Regions from separate parts of the Homo sapiens genome. Here all the other regions are linked to region 6. The links are contacts of gene promoters, found by promoter capture Hi-C in blood cells and fetal thymus (Javierre and others, 2016). All regions are on one chromosome and are shown on one strand. The core of a region is centred on a gene start or on the middle of the fragment in contact, and the rest is flanking DNA. Distances in the headings are between cores, read along the strand shown.

Region 1 (2,700 bases), core at 35-2,534, 310 kb after region 6:
AGTAGAGATGGGGTTTCACCATGTTGGTCAGGCTGGTCTTGAACTCCTGACCTCAGGTGATCTGCCCGCCTCGGCCTCCCAAAGTGCTGGGATTGCAGGCATGAGCCACCGCGCCCGGTTCAGCCCCCTTCTCTTTCAGCTCAGGCCCCCCTGCCCCTGCAGAGCCTTGGGAAGTGTCACCCCACACCAACTCCACCAGCTCCTACGAAAGCACCCCCAAATCATACCCTCTAGGCACCGCAGCAAAAGCAGCTTCAGGGCAATCCCCCAGCACAACCTCACCCCTTCCTGAGACTGGTGGGTGAGCTGAGGTCACCCGCCGCTGCCAGCAGGGCTGGGTAAATCTCGGAGCAGGCGGGGGCGAGGGCGGGGGCTGTCACCGCGGTGTTGCCTGACGCACCCTCCTCCCCAGCTCAGGAAATTGTGAGGTGAACTCTTCCCCTCCAGAGCGCTGTCTGCTGTGAAGGCGGCTCAGGCCCCCAACACACACATAGCAGGTGACAGGTAGGGCCCAAGCACTGGAGTCCCCGCTCCTCCCTGAAGACCTATCAGGGCATCTCTGGGACTGTGTTCCTGCTCTCCCTGCTCTGCACGCTCCCCCACCCTACAGTTCCCACGGGGCCAAACTTCGGTCAGAATCACCTTTATTGCACAGCCGCTCTGTACGCCAGGGGCTCATCACACATACAAGGTCGGTGGATTGTCCCCATCTTACAGATGAGGGAGCGGAGGCAGGGCGTGCAGAAGGGGCCACTCGTGGCCACGGAGCGGGGACTGGCAGGCCCATTGTCGTCAGCGGACTCCTCAGCCCCAGTGCCAGGCAAGGACTAGAGCCATGGAAAGCAGGGACGCTGAGTCCCTGGGGCGTTTGGGGCATCCCCAGCTGACGCATTTGTTGCAGCCTCTAGGGGCATGGAATAGGCAAAGTGCCCACATGGGGGTGCAAGAACTGATGCCCCCACCCCCCACTTTGTGAGTACACCCCATGGAACCTCGTTCTTTTTTTGAGACAGAGCCTCACTTTGTTACCCAGGCTGGAGTGCAGTGGCATGATCTTGGCTCACTGCAACCTCCGCCTCCTGGGTCCAAGCGATTCTCCTGCCTCAGCCTCCCAGGTAGCTGGGATTACAGGCATGCACCACCACGCCCAGCTAATTTTTGTATTTTTCGTAGAGATGGGGTTTCTCCGTGTTGGCCAGGCTGGTCTCAAACTCTTGACCTCAGGTGATCTGCCTGCCTCAGCTTCCCCAAGTGCTGGGATTACAGACATGAGCCACTGCACCCAGCCCCAAACCTCATTCTTTTTATGGGGTCATTCTTTGTATGGACGTCCAGAATCACCAATCCCCTACTGTTGGACATGCAGGTTATTTCTAGTCTTTTGCTAAGACAAGCAGTGTTGTGATGACTACACTATCCTACATCCCTTGGCATGTGGGTGTGTGTAGGATAAATGTTCTGGGCACCAGGCTCCAGCAGGCCCCACGAACAGGACTCTGGGCCTTATGCCAGGAGGGGGAAGATTCAAAGAGGGCCCCTCACCTGGGTCTGACCCAAACCCACACCAAAGCCAGCAGGTCATCCAGAGCTGATTCCCTGGGAAGCCTGCCCAGGAACCACCGTCCGTCGGGCTTTCTTATTGTAAGAGCTTTTTTTTTTTTTTCCTCCTTTGGCAGAGCACAGCGCTGGGCTCCAGCCCTGATGCAGAGGTACAAAGCTCGTCTGGGCAGATTGTTATGCAAATCAAAAGAGGAAGCAGAGCTAGGGGAGCCGAGGAGCTCCTGCTGGGCTCTGCCAGGGAAGAAGCCGCAGTAGGAGCCCCTACGTAGGCCCTGCAAGAGGCCTGGCGTTCAGGAAAGGGCCCGCTGACCATCCAGTGCAGGGAAAGGAGTCCAGCTCTGGCCTCTGCCCCTCAGCTCCACCTCCTGCATTCCTAGGAGTTCTCCAGAGGATCTGATGGGAGCTCAGAACCGGTCCCAACAGGTACTGTGACGCGATGGCCATTTTCCTTCCCTTTACCACTGTGCCCCCCTCCCCCCACTGCAGGGACGTCCCCTGGGGCGTCTCTGTGCCCATGCCCCATTGGGCGCCTCCTCTCAGCCCAGCCCCCTCCACACTGTATTGTCTCCTTAGCCGTGAGCTCCATGAGAGCAGGGTGTGCCCAGGTCACTGTTGTCTCCCCAGTGCCCGGCACAGTGCCTGGCACATCATAGATGCCCCGTGCTCCTACACCAACGAACTCCCCTGACAGCACCACATCCACGGGGAGCTAGGCCTCAGGGAACAAAGTGGTGCCTGGCTGAGGCACCCACGCAGGGCCTGTTCTTTTGTTTGAGACGGAGTCTCACTCGTTACCCAGCCCAGATTGCAGTGGCGCAATCTCGGCTCACTGCAACCTCCACCTCCTGGGTTCAAATGATTCTCCTGCCTCAGCCTCCTGAGTAGTTGCGATTATAGGCGTGCACCACCATGCCCGACTAATTTTTGTATTTTTAGTAGAGACGGCTTCACATGTTGGCCAGGCAAGTCTCAAACTCCTGACCTCAGGTGATCCACCCACCTTGGCCTCCCAAAGTGCTGGAATTACAGGTGTGAGCCACCGTGCCTGGCTCGGACTTGTTCTTGAGGATGACGGAACGGGGGTTTTGCTGTTAGGCCAGCCAACAAAATGGACAAGAAAGACGGGGGAGAGAAGTGAGA
Region 2 (2,700 bases), core at 67-2,566, 330 kb after region 6:
CGACAGAGCGAGATTCCGTCTCAAAAAAAAAAAAAAAAAAAAAAAAGAAATGTCTTTCATAATGTAAGAAACTAGATTTTTTTTTTTTGTAATAGGGAAGGGTTGAATTCTAGTAGAAGCTGAAACCCAGATAAAAAGATTGCGAATACCCAAATCCAATCATAGGGAGCCAAGTGAAGGCCATCCTGGGAGCCGCATGATGGCAGCACACAGCTGGAGCTCTAACAGTTCCTGGCACCTAGAGCCAAACGGACAGGGGAACTGGGTTTTCACAATCAATTGTATTGATCTAGGAAAACTGAAACCAAATTACTATGTGGGGCAAGAGGCTTACCGGAAAGTGCTGGGCTATCTGGTCCTGGTGGGGAGGAGGAAGGGTGCTTGTGTTCTCAGGCCTGGATCTGAGGAAGTGGGTGCAGAGATGCAATGGCACCATCCCTGGCTGCTGGCTTGGGTCTCTGTGTACCTTCTCTGGGGACCCTTACCAAGACAGGGGCTTTGGCAGGCCTGGAAGTACCTGTGCATTAGAGAGGGTTTGGGCATTTGTTGTGTAAATGCCTTAGTGTGAGTCAGTCCCCAGGAGCCTGGTTGGCCTCAGCTGCCCTGATCTTTGAGGGCCAGACTCCCACCCTGGAGCTGTTGTTAAGGAGGGTGGCAGCCAGGTCCCCACAGGACACCCCGGGTCATCGTTTTGGGGCTGGTACACTTAACACATCTGTTGCCCCAGCAGTATGGGAAGCTCAGACCTGTTCCATGACTTGGTAACTAAGCTTGGGCTGAGCCTCTGACTCCAGGCCTTCCTGGCCGCCCTATCTCACCCTTCTCATTAAACAAAGTTGGAGCTGCAGATTCCAGCTCCAACGGGGATTAACGACAGGCCCAGGACAGGGAAAGAACAAACGGCAGTGACAGGAGAGGAAGTGGGAGATGAAGTAAGACAGGACAGGATGGGAGGAGGGTGAAAGGCCAGAGGGAGATACTGGCCACAAGTCTGCACTTTCATCTTTTCTTTTTTTTTATTTTTATTTTTTTTGAGATGGAGTCTCACTCTCTTGCCCAGACTGGAGTGCAGTGGCTCCATCTCAGCTCACTGCAACCTCCGCCTCCTGGGTTCAAGTGATTCACCTGCCTCAGCCTCCCGAGTAGCTGGGATCACAGGCACATGCCATCACGCCAGGCTAATTTTTGTATTTTTAGTGGAGACGGGGTTTTGCCGTGTTGGCCAGGCTGGTCTCCAACTCCTGACCTCAGGTGATCTGCCTGCCTCGGCCTCCTGTAGTGCTGGGATTACAGGTGTGAGCCACCGCGCCCGGCATGTGCTTTCATCTTTTTAAAAAAATTTTTTATAGAGGAGTCATTATCATGCTTTCTTGCCCAGGCTGGTTTTGAAATCCTGACCTCAAGTCATCCTCCTGCTTCGGCCTCCCAAAGCACAGGGATTACAGGCAGAAGCCACCATGCCTGGCCCTGTGCTTTCATCTTGAACACTGCCCAGCTCCAGCCTAGGGTGACCAGCCAGGGACACCGCAGGAACATGCGGAACTCTTAGTCCTTCGCCAAGACCTGACAGAGTGGCATTGTTACAGTCCTGGACATAGATCGTTATCTTCCAAGTGGTATTTTTGGCGTGTGTGTATTTATTCACTTTGATATTGGGTGAGAGGAATCAGGGTCATAAGGCCAGGTTTGGTGCAATTTCTCCCAGGACTTCAGGGAGAGGGGCCCTTAGGAGTCCAGGTCTCAACAGGGACTGTGACCACCACACTCCCTTTCCACTCTCTGCCCCAGGCTCCACATACCTTCCTTGCCCAGCCCAGCAGGCCTGGCCAAGGTGGGCAATTATGGCCAGGAACTGATGGCAAAAAGCTTAGTGAGGTCCATGCTCCCATCACAAACCCTTACTGATCCCTGGGGTCAGACAGACATGGGTTCAAATGCTGCCTCTACCACTTCCGATACATGTGACCTTGAGCAAGTTATTTAATCCCGCTAAGACTAAATGTTCTTATCTGTGAAATGGGTAGTGCTTATTTTATTATAGAGTTGCTGGGAGAATTAAATAAAACCTTGCACTTAAAACATTTAGCATGGTGCCAGCGCATAGCAAGTTGGCCATTACGATTATTTTCATTCGCATCATCGTCGGCTTGACCACCTTACAATTTATTGTTGACACAGGATTTCACTGCCCAAGTTTGCATTTGTGTTTATGATTGTGCTGGCATCGAGTAGTCCTGTTTAATTGCTGCTGGCTAACAAGAAAAGAACAGAGGCGGATTTAATGCGTAAATGATGCGTTGAAGCCAAGTGAAGGCCAAATGATGTAACAGCCCGCTGTGCAAACAAAAGTATTGCAGTAATTCAAATAGAGAAAGGTTGGGGAGAATTGAGTCATTCCCCAGAGCATGGCAGCATCTGTATACATGTCAAGCTCAAAAGCAGATCCGCTCTGAGTGGTCAGTCCCATATCGCTAAAAGTAGCAATGTGGTTTCAGGCAAACAACATCATCCTTCTCATTAAACAGATATTGTTACTTTAAATTTTATTGGGTTTGCAGTTTTGTTTATATTTACTAGGTACGTTTCTCCGATGTAGATGTACTGCTAAGTAAAAAAGAAATTGTAGTATGCTGCCTTTTGATTAAAAAGGGGAGTATAGGCCAGCCGTGGTGGCTCATGCCTGTAATCCCAGCACTTTGG
Region 3 (2,700 bases), core at 158-2,657, 400 kb after region 6:
GGCTCACCCCTGTAATCCCAGCACTTTGGGAGGCCGAGGCGGGCGGATCATGGGGTCAGGAGATCGAGACCATCCTGGCTAACATGGTGAAACCTTGTCTCTACTAAAAGTACAAAAAATTAGCCGGGCATGGTGGCGGGCGCCTGTAGTCTCAGCTACTTGGGAGGCTGAGGCAGGAGAATGGCATGAACCCGGAGGCAGAGGTTTTAGTGAGCCGAGATCGCGCCACTGCACTCCAGCCTGGGCGACAGAGTGAGACTCCGTCTCAAAACAACAACAACAACAACAAACAAACAAATAAATAAATAAACAGGCCAGGTGCAGTGGCTCATGTCTATAATCCCAGTACTTTGGGAGGCCAACGTGGGCAGATCACTTGAGGTCAGGAGTTTGAGACTAGCCTGGCCAACGTGGTGAAACCCTGTCTCTACTAAAAATACAAAAAAACCCAAAAACCAGAAAAATCAAAATGTAGCGGGGCATGCTGGTGTGTGCCTATAGCCTGTAATCCCAGCTACTTGGAAGGCTGAGGCAGAAGAATCGCTTGAACCTGGGAGATGGAGGTTGCAAATAGCCAAGATCATGCCACTGCACTTCATCCTGAGCGACAGAGCACGACTCCGTCTCAAAAAAATTAAAACAATTTAAAAAACCTCGTGTAGATATATTGCAAATTACGTAAGATAAAACCTAAAGGCCAGGCACGGTGGCTCACGCCTGTAATTCCAGCACTTTGGGAGGCCAAGGTGGGTGGATCACCTGAGGTCAGGAGTTTGAGATCGGCCTGGCCCACATGGCAAAACCCTGTCTGTACTAAAAATACAAAAATTAGCTGGGCTGGTGGCATGCGCCTGTAGTCAAAGCTACTCAGGAGGCTGAGGCAGAAGAATAGCTTAAACCAGGGAGGTGGAGGTTGCAGTTAGCTGAGATCATGCCACTGCACTCCAGCCTTGGCAATAGAGTGAGTGGGATTCACTCTCAAAAGAGAAAGGCAAATATAAGAACTTATTGAGAAACTGCAGGAATGAATATAACCTGTTGTACAACCATGGTTTAACTGTAGATTTTTAGCCTAGCTTTTTTTTTTTTTTTTTTTTTTTTGAGACGGAGTCTAGCTCTGTCGCCCAAGCTGGAGTGCAGTGGCGTGATCTCGGCTCACTGCAACCTCTGCCTCCCAGGTTCAAGTGATTCTCCTGCCTCAGCCTCCCAAGTAGCTGGGACTAAAGGCGCCCGCCACCACGCCTGGCTAATTTTTTGTAGTTTTAGTAGAGACAGGGTTTCACCGTGTTAGCCAGGATGGTCTTGATCTCCTGACCTCATGATCCACCCGCCTCGGCCTCCCAAAGTGTTGGGATTACAGGCGTGAGCCACCACACTGGCCTTTTTTTTTTTTTTTTTTTTTGAGACGGAGTCTTGCTCTGTCTCCCAGGCTGGAGTGCAGTGGCATGACCTTGGCTCACTGCAACCTCCGCCTCCTGGGTTCAAGTGATTCTCCTGCCTCAGCCTCCCGAGTAGCTGGGACTACAGGTGCCCGCCACCATGCCCGGCTAATTTTTTTGTATTTTTAGTAGAGACGGGGTTTCACCATGTTAGCCAGGATGGTCTCGATCTCCTGACTTCGTGATCCACCCGCCTGGGCCTCCCAAATTGCTGGGATTACAGGCGTGAGCCTCTGCACCCAGCCTGCCTAGTGTGTTTCTTTGGAACTTATCAAAATGTCTCTGGAGGCCGGGCACGATGGCTTCATGCCTGTAATCCCAGCACTTTGGGAGGCCAAGGCAGGCGGATAACTTGAGGTCAGGAGTTTGAGACCAGCCTGGCCAGCATGGTGAAACCCTGTCTCTACTAGAAATACAAAAATTAGCCGGGCGTGGTGGCACACATCTGTAATCCCAGCTACTAGGGAGGCTGTGGCATAAGAATCGCTTGAACCCAGGAGGCAGAGGTTGCAGTGAGCCGAGATTGCGCCACTGTACTCCAGCCTGGGTGACAGAGCGAGAATCCATCTTAAAAAAAAAAAAAGGCTCTGGAACATTTCATTTCCTGTTTTGTTACTGACCTGTGACTCTGTAAAAGTCTACTTTCGCAATTTGGATTAATAATTTTATGAATGCAAATTGGAGATGCTGTTCAAAAAAAAAAAAATAGAAAAGTCTTACAAAGGAAAGACAATCACAGTGATAGCAGACATCTAGTTAGCTACAGTAGACACCTGGAGTCCATTCAAACCTAGAGAAAACTCAGCCTTGAATTTGCTATCAGCTACACCATTCAAGAGCACGGGGGAAATGAAGACATTTTCAGACATGCAAAGACTCAACAGTTTGCAATGTACAAAACTTTAGTGGAAGAAAGTAGGTGTACTTAAGCAAAAAGAGAATTTGTCTAGGGGCATAAACTAATGAGAGGGAGGGTACACCTAAATACTGGCTATAAATGTAATACTAGTTTATAGTTTAAAAAGAGGCAGGAACTAAAATTCTAGAAAGCAATATTGTGAAGAGTTATTCAAGGCTGGGCACAGTGGCTCACGCCTGTAATCCCAGCACTTTGGGAGGCTGAGGTGGGCAGATCACCTGAGGTCAGGAGTTCGAGACCAGTGTGGCCAACTTAGTGGAACGCCATCTCTACTAAAAAATAAAAAATAAAAAAATCCAAAAACAGGTACTAAGAGGACAGACCTTGCATCAAATGGTGCTA
Region 4 (2,700 bases), core at 100-2,599, 260 kb after region 6:
TTAAATGGTTATGTATAGTATAAATAATCTACAATGGAGATATATATATATATATATATAACTTTGATAAAAAATATGGTTAAACAATAGGGGTTTATAAAAACCTAATTATTTCTGCTCTCAGACTAATTAATCCTTACAGTCAGCATGTAATATTAGCCTACACCAGCTCGACAGACTTGATCTCGTTAGATTCATGAGATAGAATAAAACTTGGCCATTATTCTTCACAAAGAATGATTGTGGCTTGAAGTTTTAAAAGCGCAGAAATAAAGAAGGAAATCACAATTAAACAAAGCCACTTTTCCCAATTTCAAGAAATAAGAGCTTTCAGAAAGAGTTGGCAGCCTTGCATCCTCATCTGGAGGCTGCAGGCGGTGCCTCACAGCCCTGTGCCCGCCCTGATACTGGGAGATGCACCTGGACTTCATGGAACCCTGTGGGTCATGCTTCCGGACCTGTCGGCTGACACATCTTGCTGTGCAGCTTCTCCACCTGCTCTCCATCACTAGAAGCTACAATAGTCTTTCTGTTTCCAAGGAGATTTGCCTTTGATCAGAGTGCCATAAATGTAGATGGATGACTAACCGAGAGCGCAGGCCACTCACCGCCATTCCTGGTGTTGATAAATGTACCCCTTTACTGTCCACATACTCCAGAGCTTGCAGTTCCTTCCGCTGGTACTCACAGTTACTGAAATCATGTCATTAGTCTCAGTCTGCCTGCCAGATATTTCAGATGCCTTTGAAATACTGTTCTTGCAGTAGCAATTCATTTTTTTAAGTGCTAAAAAAAAACTTGCAGTTTTATTTGTGAAGTGTAATTTTGCCTGGAGATATAACATTTTGGTCTGGGTTAAATAGCTCCTAAATTCTCAACTGAAATGGATATCCTTGAAAACTGATTTATCAAGCTCCTGAGAGTGAACTATCACCTTGCTTCCACTAAGTAATTTGTAAGGTCTAAGATCCGCAGTCCCTGGTGTTTTTTTTTTTTTTTTTTTTTTTTTTTTTTTTTTTTGGTATAAGTAGCTCTCAGACTTTTACCCACATGAGTTTCCATTAAAATTGTACAAGCTTTGACTTTAAATCAGCTGATGAATAGAAGGAGTTGATGTGTGATCAGCTGGTGCTATTGGGAAAACTGATGATAAGCAGTGGAGCAGGTAAGAACGTATTGTTCCTGAACCATTGGAGGAACTAGCAGCAGTGACCTCTGAGGAGCCCTGGGAACACCCTGGAGCTCCTGAGCAACACGTTGCTTGTGATCACTGACCTGGATATCATGACTGTGTGAGCAACACCCCCCACACCTCAGTAGCAAAAACAGAGAACAGTGGCAGCACATCGTGGGCTGACTGCAGTTGATTCTGGCTCTCTTACATGAGAATGCCAAGTCATACAAGAAAGTGCCTGCCATGCTGAGCTTCTCTTTACCTTCTTGGGTTTTAATGGCATTGCAAGTTATCAGTATAAAAACTCATATTAGTTATACTAAATAGTTGGACCAAGTTAAGATATTAGGTTGTTATGTAGTGTGCATTTTAAAGTAAAACAAATGATAGAGCTTTTAGAAGCATCTATTATGAAAATGTTCCTTCAAGTCTGTGCCTTATGAATCTAATAAGCTTTTGCTTTTATATCAGGTTATCTGTGCTACAATTGCATTTGGAATGGGGATTGACAAACCGGACGTGCGATTTGTGATTCATGCATCTCTCCCTAAATCTGTGGAGGGTTACTACCAAGAATCTGGCAGAGCTGGAAGAGATGGGGAAATATCTCACTGCCTGCTTTTCTATACCTATCATGATGTGACCAGACTGAAAAGACTTATAATGAGTAAGCTGGGCTCCATTGTAGAGACATTCTGTCATCTTCAGCCTCATGATAGTAGTCTACTCCTGCTATTGTGGTACTTCTGGTCCAGTTTTCCTTAAATAATCGTAGAAAAATAGAGGAGTTTATACAGATTGGCAATTTTATTTTAGTTCATTTTTATTATAAAAGTGGTAAGTGCTTATTTTGTAAAACTCAAATGATACAGATGTGTACAAGGCAGAAAATTTACAAACCATGCCTTGTAGTTTTGCCCCCAAAATAACTCTAGTTATTGGTTTCCTTTGTATCCTTTCAGACCCTATTTCTGCATGCATTCTTGCATGTAACACATATTTCAAACATGCAGGAAGATAAAAAGGAGAAAATAATGAGCTGTCATATACTACCATCTGGATTAAGAAATAAAACACAATCAATCGAGCTGAACCCCTCCCCACCACCCCATAGCCTCTCTTGTCTCATCCGTCCTCTCCCATTAGAGGCAGGCAAATATCTTGTATTTGGTATGTACCTTTTCCAAATGCACATATTTTAAAATGTAAATGGGATTATATTATACATACTTTATATATATAATGACCCGATTTTTTTCAGTCAACAGTAGGATGTAATTATCATTCCAATGAATACATACAGCCTGACTACCTAGAATTCCGTAGTATGGTTATTCCATGGTTATTAAACTAATCCCCTCTTACTAGATCTTGTTTATTGTTTTTCACTGTTATCAACAATGCAGTATTGAACATCCCTCCCTATACAAATATCTTTGGGCATTTTTGCAGTTACTTATATAAGATTTTTTTTTTTTCAAGACCGAGTCTCACTCTGTCACCCAGGCTGCAGTGCAGTGGCAGAA
Region 5 (2,700 bases), core at 43-2,542, 280 kb after region 6:
TGTGAGTGCCAGTTCTGAACTTACTCATAGGATCCAAAAGGGGACCTTTGGGCCCAGGGGTTGCTGGTTCCCGTAATGCAAGTGCTCAAGGGATCAGAGCCCTGGGTACCAGTTCCAGATCTGCCACCACGTCATGCTGTGTGGTCTCTAGCAGGCCACCAATAGCCTCTTTGTGAATCAGGTTCCTCCACCAAGGAAGGAACATGTTATCTGACAAACATGTCTAAAGATAAAATTTAAGACTAGTGTTTAAATGTTTTGGAGAAATGAGCATGCAGCTAGAATGTTATTATTGTTAGTCATTGATAGAACCTGCCTGAGTGCATCATTATCAGACGTTCCCGGAGTCACGTTAGGCCTGTCCTGTGGCACTTCTAATCATGAGCTTCATCATCATTACAGCTTTAGAAATCATTGACCTGGGGGAAATGAGAACAACAAAGCATTTTGTTGTAGGAAATATTGAGAGCACAGAAGTCTTCTGCCCTCTGATAACATCACCACGTAATAGGACACAACAGACAGGCCCGGTTCAGTGTTCTTCCTGCTTCCAGACAGGCAGTGTGGGGGTCTTCCCAAGGATGATGGAAATGATGAGCAGGATGAGATAGTTCAAGTTCTCTCTTTACCTAGTCGCTTTTTTTTTTTTTGACAGAGTCTCACTCCAGGCTGGAGTTCAGTGGCACAATCTTGGCTCACTATGCCTCCCAGATTCAAGCAATTATCCCACCTCAGCCTCCCCAGTAGCTGAGACTACAGGCATGCACCACCACACCTGACTTATTTTTGTATTTTTTTGGTAGAGTTGGGGTTTCACTATGTTGGCCAGGCTGGTCTTGAACTTACGACCTCAAGTGATCCACCTGCCTCAGCCTCCTGAAGTGCTGGGGTTACAGGCATGAGCCACCACACCTGGTCAGGTTCTCCTAAATTCTTCTATATGGTAATTAGTCCATTAAAAGCCTTGTTCCGAATACATTTTGACAGTGAGCCAGGGTTGGAGCAGCCATGGTGGAGTCCTGTGCCCTCCATGCTGCTCCTGTAGGGTGGCCTGTAGGACAAGGCAGACCAGCCAGGAAATGGAGACTGGGTCCCCGTGTGAGCTATCTATAGGGAGGTTTCATGCTTTTTGGGTGCCTTGGGATGCAAATACTTATGGAAATTACCATCTTCTTTGCAAATGTGTGCTTTCATGCGGTCTCACCTCCCGCATAATATGTGACATGTTCAGCCATATTGTGCAAAGACAAGTTTTTTTGTCTGTAAAGAGTAAAATAGGATCTAGAATTTTCTTATGTTCATTTACTAAGAAACTATTGTTCAAAGATGAGATACAGGACCGTTTGTTTCCCTTATATTGAGCTGATTTTTTCAGCACATTTAAAATAAGTAAAATTGCCTGCCATCTTTATAGCAGTTGATACTTTTTGAATTGCCTACCAGAACTAACTGCCCAATCAACAACAGGAACACAGGCCATATGCGACAGTATGAGCTAAACCTCATGTCTCTAGTTAACTTCAAGACTATCACAAATTTTTTTAATGAATTCTGATTCTCTTTTGTTAAAAATGAATTGCCATTGAACACTTTGGGGCTTTGTGCAGTAAAAAAAGGTTTGGTTCTTGCTGAATTGTTGAATCCATATGGCAGGGAAGCAGCTAGGTATCTGCTAAAATGGGCCCCTGCAGCGTGTCTCTTCATATACACTAAAAACACGTGGACCAGTGCGACATCACCTGTAAACATCTGCATTTTCCATTTGTAGCTGAAGACAGTTCCCCAGGGATAAGCCTGTCCAGCAGCAGAGGCCCCGGAAGAAGTGCCGCTGAGGAGCTCGACGAGGAAATACCCGTATCTTCCCACTACTTTGCAAGTAAAACCAGAAATGAAAGGAAGAGGAAAAAGATGCCAGCCTCCCAAAGGTCTAAGAGGAGAAAAACTGCTTCCAGTGGTTCCAAGGCAAAGGGGTATGTTTTGTGACATCTTTTTCAATATAGGGAACAAGGGAAGAAAGGACAAAAGTGCAACAGCTCTGCCTTGCTTTGAAGGATTTATTAAAATAAGCCATTATTAAATATTGCTAATGGAATGACAGTTGTTAATGGAGTGACAATTAAGGTTTGATCCAAAACAAAAATATTTGCTTCAAGAAACAACAAAAAATATTTGCTTCAGATGTTTAAAACATCTACTGACTAATAGTTATGACTAAAGTTTTCTTTCTTTTTTTAATTTGAGGACAAAGTCTGACTCTGTTGCCCAGGCTAGAGTGCAGTGGCACAATCTCGGCTCACTGCAACCTCTGCCTCCTGTACTCAAGTGATCCTCCCACCTCAGCCTCCTGAGTAGCTGGGACTCCAGGTGTATACCATCACTCCTGGCTAATTTTTGTATTTTTTGTACAGATGGAGTTTCCCCATGTTGCCCAGGCTGGTCTCAAACTCCTGAGCTCAAGTGATCAGCCCACTTTGGTCTCCCCAAAGTGCTGGATTACAGACGTGAGCCACCGCACTCAGCCTGACTAATGTTTCTTGTTTGCAAAGATGTCTTCCATGTTGATCTTCCCTTAGATATTTGTTTGCCTGTTTGGGATGATTGTTCTTCTTAAGAGACTTTTCCACCTACAATACTATAAATCATACACTAGCTGAATAAATAACAAAGGGTTTTGTGTCCTCGTGGCTTTTACTATTCTGT
Region 6 (2,700 bases), core at 25-2,524:
TCGTTATGACTAATTTTGTATGTCTTTAATAAATCCCAAGTACATGCAGCAAAATGTATTGATGTCTGTTTAATCTTGATAGTGGGGGGCGTGGGTAGTATTAATATTATTTTCCGTACTCTTCCGTAGGCCTCTAATATTTCCCTCTTTACAGAACACTGACACACGCTCAGGGCTCCCCGGGACATCTTTGTGCACATCAACATTTATGCTGAGAGTAGCTTCTGGACTCCAAAGAGGAAACTCCCCGGGCACTGTGGCCCACGCCTGTTATCCCAGCACTTTGGGAGGCTGAGGTGGGCAGATCGCTTGAGCCCAGGCGTTCGAGACCAGCCTGGGCAAAATAGCGAGACCCACCCCCGCCCCCCATTGCTACAAAAACATTTACAAACTAGCCGGGCGTGGTGACCCCCGCCTGTGGTCCCAGCTGGTCGGGAGGCTGAGGTGGGAGGATCTTTTGAGCCCGGGAGGTCAAGGCCGCGGTGAGTCGAGATCGCACCACTACACTCCAGACCGGGCGACAGAGAAAGACATCCATTCACTCCCCCAAAAGAAGGGGAAATTCGCTGAGGCTGAGCGCTGGTTTCCCAAGGTGGGGCTGGCACCTGCTGAAGCTGCCACAGGAGTGGAGAGGCCGTAGGGAGACTTGGAAAGAACCTGGAAAGGGGGCCGGGGCTATGGAGCCAAGGCTGCAGCAGGGCTGGATGGTGTTTGTAGTTTGTGCAGAATAGGAGGCAGTTTTTAAAGCCGAGATACAGCTCTGGTTGACTGGAGCGGGGAGGGGTGGGTGTGAGAGGTCAGGAAACCAGCGGCTGGAGGCCGGGGGCCTGGAGCGGCAGGGCTGGCGGGCAGACGTTAGGCCCCAGGCAAAATGGGCGCACCCCCTGCGGGGGCCCGAGGTGACCTGCTCGAGGTCCGGTCGCCCAGGTTCCACCTGGAGAAGAAAATCTTCGTAATTTGGCTGGGGGAGGGGGGATGCGGGCACAGGCTGTGTTCTCCACGTCGCGTAGACGCAGAGGCCATCCCTGGGTCGGAGAGTCTCCGTGGAGTGGCACCCCAGCGTTCCCCGTACGCCGGGGCCACTTTGTCGGGCTGACGGGGGTCCCTCCAGGTGGCCGCCGGCGGCGGGTCCCGAGCCAGACCGGGAAGCGGGGAGCAGCCCTCAGCCCGCGAGCGTGGGGCCGGGGCAGACTGGAGGCCGGGCGGGCCCCGCCGAGGGTGGGGCGGGGCCGGGCGCACGGGGGCGGACCTCGGCGCGCTCCCGGCCGCTCGCTGGCTCCGGGGCCGCGGCGGCTCCTCTGCCGGGTCGCGCCGGACGACTGGCTTCGGGCGGCGGCCCCGGCGGCCTGTGGACGGACGGGTGGGCCGAGGTACAGGCCCCACGGCCGCCGTCTCCCGCTTCTGCCCGCGCAGAGTCCGCGCCATGGCCGCCTCGCCGGGCTCGGGCAGCGCCAACCCGCGGAAGTTCAGTGAGAAGATCGCGCTGCACACGCAGAGACAGGCCGAGGAGACGCGGGCCTTCGAGCAGCTCATGACCGACCTCACCCTGTCGCGGGTGAGGGCCCGGGCCGGCGCGGGCGGGGGCGGCCACGGCCGCGGGCGGGACCCGCGCGGCGGGTGAGAGGTTGCGGGGCCAAGGCGATGGCGGGGCCGGGCGGGGGCCGCGCCCGGGAACCGGCGGCTGGGAGGGGGACCGGAGCGGCCGCGGCCTCGGCGTTTCCCCGCCTGGCGACACCCGCTAGCCGTTCGCGATCCCGGGCTGAGGTGGGAGGGTCGCCCGGCCCCGTGTGCGGGAAGATGGGCAGGGGTGAAGCCCGTGGAGGCGGGCGGCCGTGCGAGGGCGGCCTGAGGGGGAGGAGGACGAGGAGCCCCGAGAGGAAATCGCAAACAGCTCGGAGGCCGGCCGGGTGGCGCGGCGCGGCTTCTGGTCGCTCCGAACATCCCCCACCATCGAGCCCTGCTGTTCTGCCGGCGTGGAAGGCCGCGGGCACCCCAGGGTCCCACGCGCTCGTGGGGGGAGCTCTGTGCACAAGTCCATCCAGGGCCCGGCCCTGGGGTGGCTCGGGTTGTTGGAACCACGACGGGATTCCGTGTCGAGTGTGAGGCTCTGCTCCTTTTACTCCTTGGAGGTGCTTTATCGGGTCCAGTTTACTTTGTTCGGCCCGGGATATTTAGTGAGAACTGACAAGCGTCGCTGGTGACTGGAGAGGGACCTGGAGGAATGAGTAAGGCGCGAGCCGGGACAAACACCTGGAGAGGTTAGGTAACCGCTGAGTGAGGCAGTGGAGGATGGAGAGCCAACCGGAGTGTCCGCGCAGGGTTGCAGAGAAGGGGGGTCAGCAGGAGTGGGGCTGGCCTTGAGGATCCTGAATGCTGACCTTGGAGGACCATCGGGAGGATGGGGGAGGATCTGCAGATTCTGGGGGACTGAGGCGGGGGAGACAGTTTGAAGGAGAGCTGAGAGCAGAGTTGCAAACCAGCTGAGTTGCAGACACATTATTTTTTGGCCAGCGCAGTGTTTGGGAAAAATTATTGAATCTGTTGCCAGAATTTTTAAATTGGAAGACTTCCACACAAAATCCAAATTTCCGTATTATTTATTTATTATTATTTATATATGTTAAAAATTGGGAGACCTGGTAACACTAATTCTGAATTCCTACATGACAGCTACCGACCTGCTGGAGCTGGGTGATGATG
Region 7 (2,700 bases), core at 3-2,502, 380 kb before region 6:
GAAACCCCGTCTTTACTAAAAATTAAAGAATTAGCCGGGGGTGGTGGCATGCGCCCGTAGTCCCAGCTACTCAGGAGGCTGAGGCAGGAGAATTGCTTGAACCTGGGAGGCAGAAGCTGTAGTGAGCTGAGATCGCACCACTGTACTCCAGCCTGGGCCACAGAGCAAGACTCCATCACCAAAAAAAAAAAAAGAAAAGAAAAAAAAAAAGTCCTTCGAGGCTGGGTGCAGTGGCTCACTCCTGTGATCCCAACACTTTGGGAGGCTGAGGCGGGCGGATCACCTGAGGTTGGGAGTTCAAGACCAACATGACCAACATCGAGAAACTCCATCTTACTAAAAATACAAAATTAGCTGGGTGTGGCAGCACATGCCCGTAATCCGAGCTACTCGGGAGGCTGAGGTAGGAGAATCACTTGAACCCAGAGGCGGAGGTTGCAGTGAGCTGAGATCACGCCATTGCACTCCAGCCTGGGCAACAAGAGTCTCAAAAAAAAAAAAAAAGCCCTTTGGTCTCCCCGCCACTGTGAAATTCTCAGTGGACACATACCTCCCAGGCTCTGCCCTTGCCATTTTGTTTTCTCCCTCCCTCCTCCCTCCTTCACCCTTCATTTCTATGACCATCTTTCCATTTCTTCTTCTCTTTTGGGGTCCCTCGCCCCCAAGTTCCGGTTAACGTTCTCTGTAAAGCCGTTTGATTCCTCCTGTGTTTAAACATCTTCCTTCAACTATGTCCTTAGCACCTCCCCTTCCTCAACAAAAGTGGCTATCAAGATATTTTCCTAAACAAAAACCGGTCTCACCCTGCTAAATGCATTGGAAACTTACCACCTGGTGTATATATTGGCCTCCTGAGCAATTGATTAGTCTGAGTCCACAGCTGGGACCTGGCTCTCCTCTCCACCAGCTGCCAGGCGGAGGGCAGACCCAGGGCCCCAGGGGTGAATTTGTCAGGGCAAAGGCCTCTGTGGGCAGCCTCTTGGCAGCCTGCCAGTAGCCCCTTCTGGCAGCGTCCCACCTCTCCCGGCATCACAGATCAAGCCTCAGAAGAGCAGGGCCTAAGGAGAAAACCCGAGAGTGACGATGGCAAAGAGTGATCACAACACCCCAGGTGGGTGGACTCCGGGGGAACGCAGAGGTACTCGGGCCCAGAGCTGGTGGGAGAGGGGAGGTGATGGGAAACTGGACACCCAGAAAGTCCCACCAGCATGGAAATCCACTGGGGGGCTCAGCACCCCTGGAGAGGCACTGGGAGTTGGGAGGATCAAAGGAAAGACAGGGCTCTCACTGCCGGTGAATAGGACAAGCTGGGAAGGAAACAGACAATGCTTTCCAGGTTGGATTGCCAAGGCAGAGAGGCAAGAGAGGGGATGGAGAGAAGTCTTCAAAACTGCCATTCAAGGCCAGGCACAGTGGCTCTCCACCTGTAATCCCAACACTTTGGGAAGTTGAGGCAGGAGGATCGCTTGAGCCTAGGAGTTTGCGACCAGCCTGGGCAACATAGCAAGACCCCGTCTCTAAAAAAGTAGAAAACTTAGCAGGACATGGTGGTGTATGCCTATAGTCAGAGCTATTCAGAAGGCTGAGGTGAGAGGACTGTGTGAGCCCAGAACATCTAGGCTGCAGTGAGCTGACATCACACCACTACACTCATTCAGCCTGGACGACAAAGTGAGACCCTGTCACAAAAAAAGAAAAAAAAAAAAAACAGGCCAGGCATGGTTGCTCATGCTCATAATCCTAGCACTTTGGGAGTTTAAGGCAGGCAGATTGCCTGAGTTCAGTAGTTTGAGACCAGCCTGGCCAACATGGTGAAACCCGGTCTCTACTAAAAATACAAAAATTAGCCAGGCATGGTGGGGAGCACCTGTAATCCCAGCTACTCAGGAGGCTGAGGCATGAGAATCACTTGAACCTGGGAGGCGGAGGTTGCAGTGAGCTGAGATCGCACCACCGCACTCCAGCCTGGGTGAAAGAACTAGACTCCATTTCAAAACAAAACAAAAACCAAAAAACTGCTCTTCAATAAGCCCTTACCACGTGTCAGGCACTGAACACTGACAGCAGCTAACAATTACACTGACTTACTCCACACCAGGCTTGTTCTAAGCAGCTGCTGTCCAATAAACACATAATGCAAGCCACATAGGTAGTTTTGTTGTTGTTGTTAATGTTTGTTTTTGGGTTTTTTTTGAGATGGAGTTTCACTCTTGTTGCCCAGGCTGGAGTGCAATAGTGTGATCTTGGCTCACCGCAACCTCCGCCTCCCGGGTTCAAGTGACTCTCCTGCCTCAGCCTCCCGAGTAGCTGGGATTACAGGCATGTGCCACCATGCCCGGCTAATTTTGTATTTTTAGTGGAGATGGGGTTTCTCCATGTTGGTCAGGCTGGTCTCAAACTCCAGACCTCAGGTGATCCGCCCGCCTCGGCCTCCCAAAGTGCTAGGATTACAGGCGTGAGCCACTGCGCCTGGCCTAGTAGTTGTTTTTTAATTTATTAATTTACTTTTCACCATGGCAGAAAAGAGCGTAGTTTTAAAAACTCTAGTAGCTGCATTTTTAAAAGTAAAAACAAAAAACCCACTGGTGAAATTAATTGTAATAATATATTCTATTTAGACTGAGTGTGGTGGCTCACTCCTGTCCTCCCAGCAGTTTGGGAGGCTGAGGCAGGCAGATCACTTGAGGTCAGAAGTTCAAG

What was found. The method cuts DNA at HindIII sites, captures the fragments that hold promoters and counts their contacts. A CHiCAGO score of 5 or more calls a contact.
Region 1: a contact is called between a fragment that was not itself captured here and the fragment with the promoter of CRTC3 in region 6, in 3 of 17 cell types (total B cells, activated CD4 T cells and total CD8 T cells). The highest score is 8.0, in total B cells.
Region 2: a fragment that was not itself captured here is called in contact with the fragment with the promoter of CRTC3 in region 6 in 3 of 17 cell types (total B cells, naive B cells and fetal thymus); the score reaches 6.9 in total B cells.
Region 3: a contact is called between a fragment that was not itself captured here and the fragment with the promoter of CRTC3 in region 6, in 2 of 17 cell types (naive CD4 T cells and naive CD8 T cells). The highest score is 5.6, in naive CD4 T cells.
Region 4: a contact is called between a fragment that was not itself captured here and the fragment with the promoter of CRTC3 in region 6, in 1 of 17 cell types (total B cells). The highest score is 6.6, in total B cells.
Region 5: a fragment that was not itself captured here is called in contact with the fragment with the promoter of CRTC3 in region 6 in 3 of 17 cell types (monocytes, activated CD4 T cells and total B cells); the score reaches 5.7 in monocytes.
Region 7: a contact is called between a fragment that was not itself captured here and the fragment with the promoter of CRTC3 in region 6, in 2 of 17 cell types (naive B cells and total B cells). The highest score is 5.5, in naive B cells.

The regions. Positions count from the first base shown.
Region 1 is chr15:90,837,918-90,840,617 of GRCh38, forward strand. LOC105370969 (a long non-coding RNA gene) reads left to right here and starts at 1,809. Exons shown (of 3, transcript XR_932610.3): 1 at 1,809-1,983. RefSeq lists an enhancer at 2,422-2,700. The HindIII fragment of the contact is 3,277 bases long and covers 1-2,700 here.
Region 2 is chr15:90,859,142-90,861,841 of GRCh38, forward strand. No RefSeq gene overlaps it. Among named protein-coding and RNA genes, the nearest start is that of FURIN, 8.1 kb to the right of the region's middle. The HindIII fragment of the contact is 1,096 bases long and covers 769-1,864 here.
Region 3 is chr15:90,926,318-90,929,017 of GRCh38, forward strand. No RefSeq gene overlaps it. Among named protein-coding and RNA genes, the nearest start is that of HDDC3, 4.9 kb to the right of the region's middle. The HindIII fragment of the contact is 3,766 bases long and covers 1-2,700 here.
Region 4 is chr15:90,789,004-90,791,703 of GRCh38, forward strand. It overlaps BLM (BLM RecQ like helicase), which reads left to right. Exons shown (of 22, transcript NM_000057.4): 15 at 1,646-1,841. Among named protein-coding and RNA genes, the nearest start is that of BLM, 73 kb to the left of the region's middle. The HindIII fragment of the contact is 551 bases long and covers 1,075-1,625 here.
Region 5 is chr15:90,809,437-90,812,136 of GRCh38, forward strand. It overlaps BLM (BLM RecQ like helicase), which reads left to right. Exons shown (of 22, transcript NM_000057.4): 21 at 1,769-1,970. Among named protein-coding and RNA genes, the nearest start is that of FURIN, 58 kb to the right of the region's middle. The HindIII fragment of the contact is 4,622 bases long and covers 1-2,700 here.
Region 6 is chr15:90,528,649-90,531,348 of GRCh38, forward strand. CRTC3 (CREB regulated transcription coactivator 3) reads left to right here and starts at 1,275. Exons shown (of 15, transcript NM_022769.5): 1 at 1,275-1,555. The coding sequence starts at 1,424. RefSeq lists silencers at 729-778, 879-1,628, 1,649-1,828 and an enhancer at 2,219-2,378. The HindIII fragment of the contact is 15,096 bases long and covers 1-2,700 here.
Region 7 is chr15:90,144,499-90,147,198 of GRCh38, forward strand. No RefSeq gene overlaps it. Among named protein-coding and RNA genes, the nearest start is that of IDH2, 43 kb to the left of the region's middle. The HindIII fragment of the contact is 7,167 bases long and covers 1-2,700 here.